5 separate regions of the Homo sapiens genome follow, and all the other regions are linked to region 2. Evidence: promoter capture Hi-C in 16 types of primary human blood cells and fetal thymus (Javierre and others, 2016). All regions are on one chromosome and are shown on one strand. Each heading gives the region's core, a stretch centred on a gene start or on the middle of the fragment in contact. The rest is flanking DNA. Distances are from core to core; before and after follow the strand shown. Region 1 holds the start of IRS1 (insulin receptor substrate 1). Region 2 holds the start of ACSL3 (acyl-CoA synthetase long chain family member 3). Region 3 holds the start of AGFG1 (ArfGAP with FG repeats 1). Region 4 has its middle 1.7 kb from the start of RHBDD1. Region 5 overlaps MFF (mitochondrial fission factor).

The links. The method cuts DNA at HindIII sites, captures the fragments that hold promoters and counts their contacts. A CHiCAGO score of 5 or more calls a contact.
Region 1: a contact is called between the fragment with the promoter of IRS1 here and the fragment with the promoter of ACSL3 in region 2, in 1 of 17 cell types (naive CD8 T cells). The highest score is 6.0, in naive CD8 T cells.
Region 3: the fragment with the promoter of AGFG1 here is called in contact with the fragment with the promoter of ACSL3 in region 2 in 3 of 17 cell types (naive CD8 T cells, total CD8 T cells and non-activated CD4 T cells); the score reaches 7.9 in naive CD8 T cells.
Region 4: a fragment that was not itself captured here is called in contact with the fragment with the promoter of ACSL3 in region 2 in 2 of 17 cell types (total CD4 T cells and fetal thymus); the score reaches 8.6 in total CD4 T cells.
Region 5: a fragment that was not itself captured here is called in contact with the fragment with the promoter of ACSL3 in region 2 in 1 of 17 cell types (naive CD8 T cells); the score reaches 6.2 in naive CD8 T cells.

What each region holds. Positions count from the first base shown.
Region 1 is chr2:226,798,464-226,801,163 of GRCh38, forward strand. IRS1 (insulin receptor substrate 1) reads right to left here and starts at 1,357. Exons shown (of 2, transcript NM_005544.3): 1 at 1-1,357. The coding sequence starts at 275. It also overlaps a transcript of RHBDD1 not described here. RefSeq lists silencers at 176-225, 1,216-1,635, 1,656-1,725, 2,686-2,700. The HindIII fragment of the contact is 8,747 bases long and covers 1-2,700 here.
Region 2 is chr2:222,859,613-222,862,312 of GRCh38, forward strand. ACSL3 (acyl-CoA synthetase long chain family member 3) reads left to right here and starts at 1,424. Exons shown (of 17, transcript NM_004457.5): 1 at 1,424-1,646. RefSeq lists an enhancer at 1,139-1,433 and silencers at 1,150-1,479, 1,550-1,919. The HindIII fragment of the contact is 2,380 bases long and covers 855-2,700 here.
Region 3 is chr2:227,470,882-227,473,581 of GRCh38, forward strand. AGFG1 (ArfGAP with FG repeats 1) reads left to right here and starts at 1,275. Exons shown (of 13, transcript NM_004504.5): 1 at 1,275-1,707. The coding sequence starts at 1,541. MIR5703 (microRNA 5703) reads left to right here and starts at 1,251; the gene lies at 1,251-1,306. LOC124907994 (a long non-coding RNA gene) reads right to left here and starts at 1,218. Exons shown (of 2, transcript XR_007088114.1): 1 at 279-1,218; 2 at 1-108. RefSeq lists an enhancer at 188-1,151 and a silencer at 1,264-1,983. The HindIII fragment of the contact is 6,204 bases long and covers 1-2,671 here.
Region 4 is chr2:226,832,960-226,835,659 of GRCh38, forward strand. It overlaps a transcript of RHBDD1 not described here. Among named protein-coding and RNA genes, the nearest start is that of RHBDD1, 1.7 kb to the right of the region's middle. RefSeq lists enhancers at 2,414-2,700, 2,548-2,617. The HindIII fragment of the contact is 2,124 bases long and covers 341-2,464 here.
Region 5 is chr2:227,332,148-227,334,847 of GRCh38, forward strand. It overlaps MFF (mitochondrial fission factor), which reads left to right. Exons shown (of 9, transcript NM_001277062.2): 4 at 272-441. Among named protein-coding and RNA genes, the nearest start is that of MFF, 8.2 kb to the left of the region's middle. The HindIII fragment of the contact is 1,684 bases long and covers 543-2,226 here.

The sequences.
Region 1 (2,700 bases), core at 107-2,606, 3.9 Mb after region 2:
TGCTCGTCCCGGGTGTAGAGAGCCACCAGGTGCTTGTTCTTGGAGTCAGCCCGCTTGTTGATGTTGAAGCAGCTCTCAAGGGGGATCGAGCGTTTGGGGGCGCTCGACTTGTGCCGCCACTTCTTCTCGTTCTCGTAGTACTCGAGGCGCGCCGGGCCCCCAGCCTCGCTGGCCGCGCGCAGTACGAAGAAGCGTTTGTGCATGCTCTTGGGTTTGCGCAGGTAGCCCACCTTGCGCACGTCCGAGAAGCCATCGCTCTCCGGAGGGCTCGCCATGCTGCCACCGCCACCACCAACGCTGAGCAGAGGGAGGCTCCGAAAAACAACCGGGTGGGGGGCGGAGGCTCCTCGCCGCGGCCCGGCACATGCAAACAGGGCTGGAGGCAGCAGAAACCCCGACTCTGAAATCCACGCCGCCCCCCGCGCCGGGGAGGGGCAGCTGAAGGAGGACGCAGCTGCTGAGCCCAGGAGAGAGCCCGACCGGAGTTTTCGGGCGCTTCACGCCCGGCGGGGAGGCAGTGCGTCCGGGGTGAGGGCAGCCCCGATCCTCCGAGAGCCAAGTCTCCTCTCAGCCGCCGCCGCCACCAGGAAGGAGCGAAGATGCATCTCTCGTCGCCCCGGCTGGAGTCCGGCACAGGGAGGCGACAGTCGGGGGTCCCTGCGGTGCCCCTCCAGGAGCGCGCGCGCGCGCGCGCCTTCCCTCCTGAGTTCCCCTCTGGAAGCAGCGATTCCCGAGGCAAATTAAATATCCTTGGGCAGGGGGAGGCGGGTTGCCAAGTCCCAACGTTGCACGGGGTTCTCCCTCCTCCTTCGCCTCCTCCCACCCCCCAACCGTCCCAGCCGCCACCAGCCGCCCAAATACCAGCTCAGTCGCAGAGACCGCGGCGCTGCGGCTGTTGCTGTTGCTGCTGCTGCTGCTGCTGCTGCTGCCGCCGCCCGCGGGCGCGTCCTCTGCAGCCCCCATCCGGGCCCATCTCGGCGGGTGGAGAAAGTGGCTTTTCCATGCGAAACGATACCGGGCAGCCACTGCAGCTGGGGACCGGCCGGAGGGACAGACTCATCCCTGCCCCTCGCTCCAGGCGGCTGGGGAGGAGGGGAGGGGACAAGGGCGAGAGGGGATGGGGGAGGTTTGGGAAGGGTTCGGGGAAGACGCCTGTTCCTCGGGAGGCGCTGCCGCTGCAGTTACTTCTCCCCTCCTCCCTCCTCCTCCTCCTCCTCGGAGAGTTGCCGAGAGCCCCAACCAAAACAAGCGGCGGCGTCTGGCTCTGCGCGCCGGCCCCCTCCGACCGCGCCGCCGTCTCACTCGGAGGAGAAAAACACGTGACGGAGCCTCCGCGCTCGGCAGCCGGGCAGCCGCCGCCGGGAGGCTCCCGCCCGGGTCTCTACATTCCGGGCCGAGCCCGCCCCGCGCCCGCCCCTCTCCGCCCCCCAGCCGTGCTGCAGCGGCGCCCGCGCCGACCCCGGCGCAGCGCTAGGACAGCGCCCCTGCGCGGCCGCCAGCTCCGGCGCAGCGCCTCCCTACACGCGCGCCAACCGGGGCGCCCCCGGCCCGCAGGAATCCCCGCGGCGGGCGCAGGCGGGGGTGTTTGGGTGGCTACCCGAAAGCACGAGGGGAGTCTGGGAAAACGGGAGGGGGCGAGCTCGGGAAGACGCAGGAGTGAGGGTGGGGGGCCACGGGGGGGCACTGCGGCTACAGAGCCCCGAGTGGGAGGCCGGGGGGAGGCGGGGGCGCCGGAGCTGGGCTGCCTCTTACCTATCAGGTAAGACTGACCCACGGGAGGGAGGTTTCTAGTCAAGGCTGTTTCCCCCAGGAAATTTAAAAGCTAGATTTCGGCTTCAGGGCGATAGGCCATGGTGAGGGGATCTGTATTTTTTAAGGTTTTTCTAAAGGACTTCTGGGCCAGCCTTCCACCTTGGGATCCCCAGATTTGCTGCCGTGAGGTACCTGGAAGGAACAGAGGGACGCCCAAGGGCAGTGACTGGGGGCAGTTATGGTCACTACAAAAGGAGAACAGGGATCCCCAGGAAGTGTCTCACGTCCGGCGCTGTGGAATTAGTTGCTGATCAAGTAGGGAGAAAATGTAAATATCACCTTTTCTCCTGCTCCCCTTGCCCATCCGTGTGACGGGGGGACTCACACCTAAGGCTGAGGGCATGGGGGAGGGGAAATGAGAGGTCCCTTATCATATTCCGAAGTCTATCCGTGACTTTAAAAAGCTGTTAGGGACCTTCAGAGGGTTCATAAGGCCAAAACCCTACTGTGCAAATATTGGCTGAAATGTTTGTTTCACACACAGCTCCCACACCCATTGAACCACCCTATAAGTTTTTAACCTTGACCACAAGGATAACAGGGAGAAAACAAGGATGGTGCCAGCTCAACTGTACAGGAAAATGGTTACTTCATGAGTGGACCAGATCAGCAGCCTGGGTCTACTTGAAGCGCCCCTTTCAGGGTCACCTTGCGGTATCAGTCTCCCCACAAACAAACGCTCCCCAGAGTTTTTTTATTTTTTAAGCCGACCTATAAACAAGCAGTTTGTCCCTGCTTGCTCGCCTGGCACTAAGGACCCACAGAGATGTCACTCGGTTTAATGCTGTCTCATTTTGATGCCTGGCCCGTTTGGGGTTGCCGCCCCTTTACTACGCCGGGACCCTCCTCGGCCTCAGGCTCCCAGGCACTGCAGGATGCTGGCTGGGC
Region 2 (2,700 bases), core at 174-2,673:
CCATAATATATATTCCATAATATAAAGATAATGAAGAAAGATATTGTTGGAATTCTTCTAGTCTGTTTTAGGCTTATGGATAGATAAAAAGGTGCAATATTAGTTTTCTTCTCTCGGAAAAAAACCAGTATTTTCCAGAGGATTTCATGGTTCTAGAAGTACTACTTCTAAAGCCTGCTTCTCTCTGCAGAGCTGCGAATGTCTTTTCAGATAAGAAATTCTGCATTCCATTTATCTTCAGGATGTATCCTTTGATAAGATTTCAACAGATTAATGAGCAACTGAACTGCCATATTTTGAAGTGGGAGAACAGTTTGCCTGAGTCAGGTATCCATCCCTTTAGGTTCTCGATTGGCCCTTGGCCCACGGTGAGTGAGCTCTCTTTGCTTGGTGCATCATCGCTCCACCTAGTTCAAGTTCTGGCGGCTTCCTGATTTTGATTCTCTTGGGAAATGAGGCCTGCTTTAGCCTGAGGCTGGCTCAGGAAGGCAACCTTTCACCTACTTAAGGAAAAGTTCACAGGCAAACTAAACAATATGTTGGGTTAAAAAAAGAGACCAATCCTACTAGTACTGGGTGAGTGAAAATCTTCTCTCTTACAGTACATGTAGTTCTACTACCTGCACTGGATGCTTTCTTTCTTATCCTTGTTTAGTGTCTAAAACGAGAAACAATGGCAAACTCCTTAAAATACAGAACCACTGTGGATTCCTAAGAACGTTCAAAAACAATAATTTGGAGTAAACTTTATTTTTTGAAAAGAAATAGCAAATTTGCATGGTGAGTGCATTTAGAGGAAAACGGGTTATATGCTAGGTCAAGTGAGGCCAAAACAAGAGAAATGATAATGGATAAGCTTTGAGTTTTTGAGGCTCTTCTTGCCCCAGGCAGTTCCAAAAGCCATTTTATTTGGCAGGATTTGACAGCAATTTCTGCAAGAACGGGATAACTAATCCAGTTAAAAACGAAAAAGAATATGCATACTATTTCATAATTTATATTGAAATTTATACATTACAGCAATAATTGTGCGACTGTAATTTTTTTTTTTTTTTTTTTGGTGGAGGGGTGTTTTTTCCTGGAGGGACGGAGCTCCTGCAGACCCTATTGGGCTAGCCGCTCCTCCCACGTCGCTGCCGCAGATCCCCGCTCCCCTCCCCCACCCGCGGTCCGTCCCTCCTGGTCGACCCCGTTCCCGCCCCCGCCCCGCGCAGACTGCAGCCAGGTCCGGTCCGCGGCGGCTCCGCGGAATGACCCGTAGTAACCTCGCCCCGCCCCGGGCCGCCAGCGCCGCGCTCCCCGGCCCGAATTCGATAGGCCCAGCCCCGCACGCGCCACCGCTCGCGGGCCAATGGGTGGCAGCCTCTCTGCATAGGCAACGAGTGCCGGCCGGGGGTGAGCGTCCCAGGCGGTTCCGCTCAACAGACGCTGCTGTGGCTGCGCCGGGCTGCGACACTGCAGTTGTCTACGCGGCCGGGGCCGGGACGAGGAGGCGTTGGACGGGGTCGCATACGTTCGTCCCCTCGCATTGCGGCCCCGACAGCTGCGCCAGGATCCCCGGGCGGCGGCGCGGGGCGTGAACGCTCTGGGGCTCAGCCAGGCCTGCGCGGGCCCGAGGCCGGAGGAACCCGGACTCCGGCGTAGCGGTGAGTGCGGCGCCGGTTGTGGGAGCGGCGGGAGCCGGTTGGCGGCGCGGCCTCCGCGTGCGGTTCGGCTGGGCCCGAGGGGCTCCCCAGCCTCGGGGCCTGGGACCCTGTCGTCGGCGCCGCACCTGACCGCTGGGTGTGCGCGCGGGCGGCCCGCGGCACCAGGAGCAGCGGCGAGCAGGGTGGGAGGCGGCCCGCTGGGGTCCGGGAAGCGGCTGACGTGGGGCCTCGGCCCTGAGCCCACGCGAGCCGGGAGCTGCAGCGCGAACGGCGTGGGGCGGCGCTGACCAGGCAGGGAGGATGCACTGCGTGCCTCCCGGCGCTGTGGGGCGGGGTGGGGAGGCCACCCCCTTGAATTAAGAGGGCTCTGCCGCGGCCCCAGCAGTGCGGTGTCCGTGGAAGGAGACTCAGCCCTGCGATTTCGGAAAACCCTTGTTTGGCGGGGCGGGAGGGGCTGTTGCTGCGTGGGGTGAGAAGAAACTAGGTGCGTGAGGTGGGTCGACCTTGGTGATTGGTTCTGGGCACTATCGTGGTGGTGGGACTGGGATTAAGACTGTCGTTTGGGGTTTGAGAGTTGCAGCTTTGCTTTTCCCCAAGTGCGTTTTAATCATATACTGTTGATAGGTTGGGTAACTCGGGGACTGCTTACTACCAGCAGTCCTGTGGGGTAGGTGTTATCAGGCTCGTTTCACAGATGAGGAGCCCGAGGCACAGGTTTTCAAATGGTTTTCGCAGGAAGTCTGATACTAGAAAGTGTGCTCTAAGCTGCTGTATAAAAGATCCCTCGAAAATGAAAAGGCTGGAGGAATGTCTTTAAAATTATATGGAAGCTAGAAAGGCAGTAGGCTTTGTGAACGAAATTATAGCTGAAAAGAATGACAAATAGCTGACATTTATTGAGCTTTTATTACATGCCACGCACTGTTTGGAGAGCTTTATGTACAGTGTCTTCACACTGTTAACAGTCCTCTGGGGTGGGGGTTATTCCCATTTTACAGCGGGAGAAACTGCAGATTGGACGACTTAGCTTGCCTCAGATCTCAGCTAGTAAGAA
Region 3 (2,700 bases), core at 25-2,524, 4.6 Mb after region 2:
TTCATGAGAGATGTGGAGGTTGGTCTTGGCTGTTAGGAAACGTAGATTCTAATCCATTCAACAGCCCAGTGATTTGAGAACTTCAGCTCTCTGGGTCTCCCTGTACTCCTTTGGAAAACGAGAGACGAAGTTGATTGTTGCAGTGGGGATTTGGGTCCTGCAGTCTGGCTGTCTGGGTTGGAATTGAGCTTCGCCATAGGTACCCTTGGGTAAATTTACTTAATCCCTCAGGGTTTCATCTTCCTGTTTTGTAAAATGTAAATAACAATAACGCTCACCTCGAAGGGTTGTTGTGAAGATTACATGAACGATTTCATGTATTCATTCCGTCAACATTGAACACCTAGTCTCCAGCTCTGCGAGGGGAATGGGGTGGAGTGGCACAGAAAATACGGGGGCCAGGCTGTTTAGCGCCTAAAGGGAGAGTCCAGATCACCCATGGTAAACACGAAATAAGATGCAGTATTTCAAATAGCTAGAACTGAGACGAAAATACAACGCAGCAATTTGATGGAGAGCAACTTCGAGAAAGGTGAGCTGCAACATTAACTCGGCTGATCTGGGACAGTCTGGCGGGGGAGGTGACATCTGAGCCCCACCTGACTTAGAGGATGTCAGCTATGGATGATCCGGGTTTCCACACGCAGCAGTTCTCAAGCCAGGTGACTGCACCGCCCTAAAGTTCCCTCCACTTTTGGCAATGTCTGGGGATTTTTGGTTGCCAGCAATGGGAATTGGGGGGTTTGTTCTTGTATCTAGTGGGTATAGGCTAGGAACGCCGCCCAGTATCCTACAGTGCACAGGACACCCCAAGCCCCCCCAAATTAGCTGGCCCAAAGATAAAGAGAGAAGAGCAAGGGCAAAGGTCCTGCAGGAGTCAGAAAGGAGCTTGCTGTGTTCAGAAAACTCAAAATCCAGTGTGGCTGAGTGAGGACGACGAAGAATGAGGTAGACTGGGCTAGACTATGGAGCACTTTTTACGGCACGGTGAGGAATTTGGAATTATACTCAAAGCAGTGGAAAGCCCTTGAAGAGTTTTAAACAGAAGGGGAAGGTAACCCATGTGAAACGCTTTGCATATATAAGCGCTCAATAAATACTGTCTATTATTAATATTATTATCACCATTGTGTCTACCCTACTTGGCTCCAGACCCGGCCCATGCCTCAGCGAGGCCGCAGTGACTCCTCCTGGCCAGCAGAGGGCGCCAGCGGACACTTGGCTACCGGCCGCCCAGGGCGGGCCTCCTCTTGCCGTCCCCTTCCTCGTCTTTTCCCCTCAGGAGAAGTCGGGAAGGTGGCGGCGGCGGCGGCGGTTGTCCCGGCTGTGCCGGTTGGTGTGGCCCGTCAGCCCGCGTACCACAGCGCCCGGGCCGCGTCGAGCCCAGTACAGCCAAGCCGCTGCGGCCGGGTCCGGCGCGGGCGGCGCGCGCAGACGGAGGGCGGCGGCCGCGGCCAGGGCGGCCCGTGGGACCGCGGGCCCCCGGCGCAGCGCTGCCCGGCTCCCGGCCCTGCCGGCCTCCTCCCTTGGCGCCGCGGCCATGGCGGCCAGCGCGAAGCGGAAGCAGGAGGAGAAGCACCTGAAGATGCTGCGGGACATGACCGGCCTCCCGCACAACCGAAAGTGCTTCGACTGCGACCAGCGCGGCCCCACCTACGTTAACATGACGGTCGGCTCCTTCGTGTGTACCTCCTGCTCCGGCAGCCTGTGAGTGCGGGGCGGCCGGGCGGGTGTCGGGCCCTTCCCGGGAGGTGGGGGAGCGGGCGGCGGGACCGGGACCCTTCCGGGGCTGGGAAAGAGCCGGGTGCCGTGGGAGGCGGTCGGGGGCGGCCGTTGGGCGCCGGCTGGCGGGCGCGGCGTGGGAGGCTGCGGGCTGGATGCGCAGGGCCCGGGCAGCCGGGCTGGGGATGCGTTTTCGGTTTTGCCGGGCGAGGGTTTACGTTCTGGGCAGCCTTCGTGGGTGGGACGTGGGCGGGGTTGGGGTCAGGGAGGGGGCGACCGGGGCGAGCGTCCCTGGTCTCCGTCGAGCCTGCGGCCGCCGCCCTCGCTCTCCAGCTACCCGGGGCGCCGGGCTGTGGGGGGTGGGGGAAGACGCTAGGAGGCCGGGGGGGAGGTCCATGCGGGTCCTTTGTGTGCCCCGCCTCTCAGCGGCCCGGGAGCCGCGGTGCGGAGCGAGGCACCTGCTGGGCGCTCCTGCTGGGGGTCGGGGAGAAGCTGGGGTGGGAGGGAGGGACGCCTGCCTCGCCCGTGCCTTTTTTCTGGGTCGAGAGTACCTACGTAACTGGGAGGAAGCAGGCACTTAGGAATAGTAGCAGGATGAAAGCATCTTGATGGCAGATGTGAATCCCCTGGGAAAAGTTCGAAAGGATTAATTGCGGGAGGGGGAGGCAGAGGAGCAGATTTGAAGCTGTGGGATTTTAGTTTTATGGTCCGAAGAGAGTGTTGAGGAGTTGGGGGAAAGTTTTAATGGCAATAAGGTACCCACTAGGAGCTGTGTGATTCTAAATATGATGGAGTTATCTGTGAGATTTATCTGTATCTCGCTATCAATACCCGAGTGCCCTGGCTGTACACAGAAATGAGGAGAGCTAGCAAGTCACCATGATTTCAGAAAGACACTACCGTCCTGAGTTACTGGGATGATTTGTGTTTGTTGTTCTTTGCTTCATTAAGCTTTATTTTGATAAAGATTTTTATTGC
Region 4 (2,700 bases), core at 153-2,652, 4.0 Mb after region 2:
AAGATTGTGCCATTGCACTTCAAAAAAAAGAAAAAAGAAAAAGAAATTTCTTTCTTAAAGTCTGTTTCATCTGATATTAGTATAGCCACTACAAATCTCTTATGGTTAGTGTCTGCATAGTCTACTGTTAAGTATTGTTGGTATTATTATCACTATGGTACATGAACCAATTTCTCATTTTTACAGTTCTTAAATTGAGATTTGAATTATTTAATTTGCAAGCTTTTCCATAACTAGAAAGCTATAAATTATCTTATCAGTTTTACACATATTTTGGTACAGTTTTGGGTAAAACAGTAATCAATACTTGGTTCATTAAAAGCAATTAGAAACCCAAACAAGCTTCTCCCTTAAAAAGATAATCCAGTTGTGTATTTGTTGCACGCTGTCGTTGCATGGTATTGTTGCCTGACGTCCTCTCACTTTCAGGCTGGGTTCTGAAATCTGAGAATGACACTTGTCTACCTTCCTGCCAGTCCTGGATTTGTGAACTGTACAAGGGTTGTTACCACCACTCCTCCGCTTATGTGCAAGCACCACATCTTAAAAACACTCATTTAAGTCGGGTGGCTTAATCATAGGTATTGCTGCTTTTCCTGTAAACCTTAGATAAAAGTTAAAATTTATTTTATACCATTCAATGTCTCACATATTATGCACAATGTGCATAGTGCTGCCTCGTCTCATGATTAAGATATATACTTTCCAGCATTTAGAAATCATTGTTTTATATGGTAATGTAGTGATTACGTATATTTTAAGTTAAAGAATTTCTTCTGGCACTGATTCTTTGGTATTTTTAAGCCTTGCTCAGTGAAAGGATGCTGCTGCTGATTGCTTCATATGTTCATATTTAAGATATACAATTATTATCCAAGTGATATTTGTCAATTGAAATGGGATATGAGCATGTTACAACATGCTCATTTCAACAGAAACTTTTAAAAAACCCAGTCTGCTCAACAAATCACGTAGGACAAAAGAGAAGGTCATTTTTTAAAAGGTAGATATTTTTTTCTATCTGTTAAATGTCTTTTACCCCTTAAATGTCTATGAAAATTTTCACTGATATTTGAAACAGAACATAATTACCTAAGAATATTCTTAATCCGTATATATTTCTTACATTTTAACGAAATTATTGAATTGAGACTTCTTGATTTGTGGCTCCCTTAAAATCACCTCTGCATTTGATGTATTATACGGACAAGAAAATGATGCAATTATAGAAAGATGTAGAGAGTGATGGAGAATAGAAGATAAGATTAATATTAATTGAATGGATTCATATGATTGTGGTTCAGAAGGATAAATGAGGACTTCTTCCTTTTGAGAAATTACACATTTCCCCCTCTAGGGAAATACAGAAAATACCTCTATAGGCAATTTACTTTTCCCCGCATTCATTTGACTTTTCATGTCCAGAAATGCAGTTTCTCATTGTCAGTTGAGCTTTTGGAGGAGTATATTGTTTTTCTAGGAAAGAGGTAACTTATGAGTCTTAATGAACACGTACAATTTGCTAAGAATCTTCTTTGTCACTTGAAAGTCATATGTACACCCACACCTATGCATGAGCCACATTTTCACTTAAATTTCAAACTCCAAAATAAATATTTCTATGAAGAGTTTTAATACACAATGGCAAAAGATAAACTCTTCTGGTTTAGGCAGTTTTTGTTTTAGCAGACTATCTAAACACAGCTGCTACAACTTCCAATAAACAAAGAGTAACACTAAACCACCTGTATTCGGATACTCGGATTCCTTCTTGGAAAAAGAGCATCTTTACCCTAGCTATCAGAAAATTCCATACCAAATAGTAAGATTTTTTTTTTTTGAGATAGAGTCATGCTCTGTCGCCCAGGCTGGAGTGCATGGACGCGATCTCACTGCAACCTCTGCCTCCCGGGTTCAAGGATTCCCCTGCCTCAGCCTCCCGAGTAGCCGGGATTACAGGCGCCCGCAACCATGCCTGGCTAATTTTTGTATTTTTAGTAGAGACAGGGTTTCGCCATGTTGGCCAGGCTGGTTTTGAATTCCTGACCTCCGGTGATCCGCCCGCCTTAGCCTCCCAAAGTGCTGGGATTACAGGCGTGGGCCACCGCGCCAGGCCTGTTGTTGTTTTTTAAATAGAGACAAGGTCTCACTATGTTGTCCAGGCTGGTCTCAAACTCCTGAGCTCAAGCGATCCTCCTGCCTCGACCTCCCAAAGTGCGGGGATTACAGGCGTGAGTTACCGCGCCCGGCTGTAAGATAGTTTTTTCATATCCTATTAAATATATATAGCATTGCAACATTTAACTTAGCCTAACTCCTACAGCTAAACATAAAACTTGCTCCCGAGTAGCAAACAATTAAAATGGTATCAAATTATGTATTAATCGAAATTCTATTAACTGAAATATGAAACACCTAAAGCCCTCAAAATGGGCAAACGTTGCGTGGTGCAGTCCCAGACCCAAGCTTCTGGGAGTGAAAGGTGCACCCGCGACCTTGCCTTGCTGGCTGGCTCTGGGACTCTGCGATAAGCCGCCCTCCGGTTGTCTGCGATAGCTCCTGAAGCAGGAGAGTGTCTTTCCCACCCTCCGCCTAACAGGCGGTATCTGACCCTTCCAGGCAGCAGCTCCCCAGCCTCCGGCTGCGCTGGGGCCCGGAAGGACGAAGCTTCCCGGCAGAGAACCTGGGCAGAGGCGTCCG
Region 5 (2,700 bases), core at 135-2,634, 4.5 Mb after region 2:
ATTTTTAGTAGAGACGGGGTTTCACCGTTTTAGCCGGGATGGTCTCGATCTCTTGACCTCGTGATCCGCCCGCCTCGGCCTCCCAAAGTGCTGGGATTACAGGCGTGAGCCACCGCGCCCGGCCTGGAAGCATATTTTGAAAGAAACTAATGCTTATTGGGTGGTATAATTCAAAAGCAGAAGAAGGTAAATACATTTTAACAAAAATCACTGTCTTTTTAAAAAACCTCCCGCTTTTCTCTTCTTTGTCTCTTTTCTTGAAAACTCCTAGGAAATAATGAAGATGTTTCATTTTCAAGACCAGCAGATCTTGACCTTATTCAGTCAACTCCCTTTAAACCCCTGGCACTGAAAACACCACCTCGTGTACTTACGCTGAGTGAAAGACCACTAGATTTTCTGGATTTAGAAAGACCTCCTACAACCCCTCAAAATGAAGAAGTAAGTAGAACTTTAGTATCACCGGAATTTGAAATAATGTAGACAAAGGTAAAAGAGAAGAGCAAAGAGGCTTTATCATATCTTTAGCAATATGTCATGAAAGCTTTCCATATGGAACATTACTAATAATTCTAATTTACAAATGTGCCAAATAAGTTATTATGCTATTTTTAAAATTTGAATATTATGTTTTAGGAAAAATGTAAGTTTTGTGGTAAGTATTATTAAGTTCCTGTGGTTTGAAGAAAGAGCCTTTATGGGTAGGTGTTACTTGTTAAATAATAAGAAAATGTTGGGAAGTTTAGCAATAAGAAGTAAATGTATCACTTTGTTATAAAATCAGTCTAGCAAACAGGGCAAAGAAAACCCTTTTTCGCTTGACACTACCCATTCTCGCTACTTGATTAAAAGTTTCTACTGAGCTACTCTACTGCATCACGTTAATGTGCCAGTTGACCTAAATGTAGCAGTGTAGACTAACAAGGTGTTAGTAACAGAGTTCGAATCCTGCCTTTGTCATTGACTTACAGCTAACCTTTGAAGCTGCTTTGCCGTGATGATTGCTGGGGTTACATCTTTTTCATATAGCTTTTGAACTTCTAACATGTTGTCATGAAGCTAGTATGAGACAATGTGCAAACATATGTTTTTATTAATAATGGTACTGCTTGTGTCTGGTTTCATTTTGCATGTAATACTTTCCAAAGAGGGTAAAGCACCCATACTGTCTAGGGCAATGCAATTTTCTAGGATTAGGTTCTTAGATTGTAAGTTTCTGCTGACATAATTGAGGTAATATGCTCACAGTTAGTTTGGATATTCTAGGTATTTGGTGAAAAGCACTAAATCTGAGCCTTTACATGACAGAAAGGCACTAACATACTTGCAGAATTGTATTATTTAACAAACATTTTTTAACTTTTATCTCTGAGATACTATATGCAGTATAGGAATTAATGAGACATAGTTCCTGCATTCAAAAAGTTTGCTGTCTGTCTGGTTTCAGCAGGACAATGATATGAGTGAGGGAAAGACATCAACGCATGCAGAAGATACAAAATTCTTTAATAGCAGAAAATAATGAAAGTTACCAAGATGGTTACATAAAACAAAAGTATCCAGTGTGCTCCCAGTTTAAGGCCCAGCTTTCTAACTCCCCAAAGTTCCTTGGGAATTATACCTGTGAAAATAATTGTCTTACAGTGACGATTTTGCCAGGAAAGAAATGCTCCTTATTGTATTCTTCGGGTTTTTCTGTTGGTCTTTCTGCTTCTCCTAATTGAAAGCAACCCAAGCAATTCCCTGATTGATTATTTTAAGAGTGAGTGAAGAAAGTTTGCCGGGATTTCCCTCAGTAGACCCAGGCTTTAAGACTCTACGGGGTTCATTCCTGCATTAATTGTGATATTTAGTCAAATGTGATAGATGTTCAGAGTGTATAACACTGGGGTAAAAAAGTTTGTGTGAGAATTAGAACTAATTTTGAAGACCTACTTTGCCATTTACTAACCACATAACTTTGGGCAAGTTATTTAACAGTTCTAGGGCGTATCTCTGAAATAAAGATAAGAATAATGCCAAGTGCATGAGATTGTTATGAGAATTAAATGTAATCATGCATGTTCTAATTCGTGTTAAAAGCTCAATATATATAAATGTTATTGTTAGGAGAGACTTAAAATCCTGTGGCAGGAGCCAGATCCTGAAATGAAAGACGAGTTTCTGAGATTAATACCAGCTGCTTATTGAAAGCAAAGATGATGGTTTGGACTTCAAGTTTATACAAGCTTATAGAAGGGTCCAGTAGCCTTCAAGAAGCACTCAACTGCAGTGAGCAAGGGAGGAAGGGGTAAGGGAGCCAGGGTTCTAGTAGCTTCTAGAAATTGACTGAAATAGAGAAGCAGTAAGGGCCTGAGTACTGATAACATTGATGATTCATTCAGGTGTTAACTCAGAATCGATAAAGTGAGATCCCCAGAACATTTGCTCTGTATCATTCTGCAGTGGATGCTAGAATGAGGTAGAGCAATAGTGCTCTACCTCAGCACTGTTGGCATTTTGGACTGGAAAATTCCTTGTTGTGGTGAGAGCCACCTTTTTGCACTGTAGAATGTTTGCAACATTTGTGATCTCTATCTACAAGATGCCATTACCGTCTTCCAAGTCATGATATCCAAAAATGTCTGTAATAGCAAAAAGGTGGAAGCAAGTAAAATATCCATCAGCTGATGAATGGATAAGCAAAACATCATCTAGCCA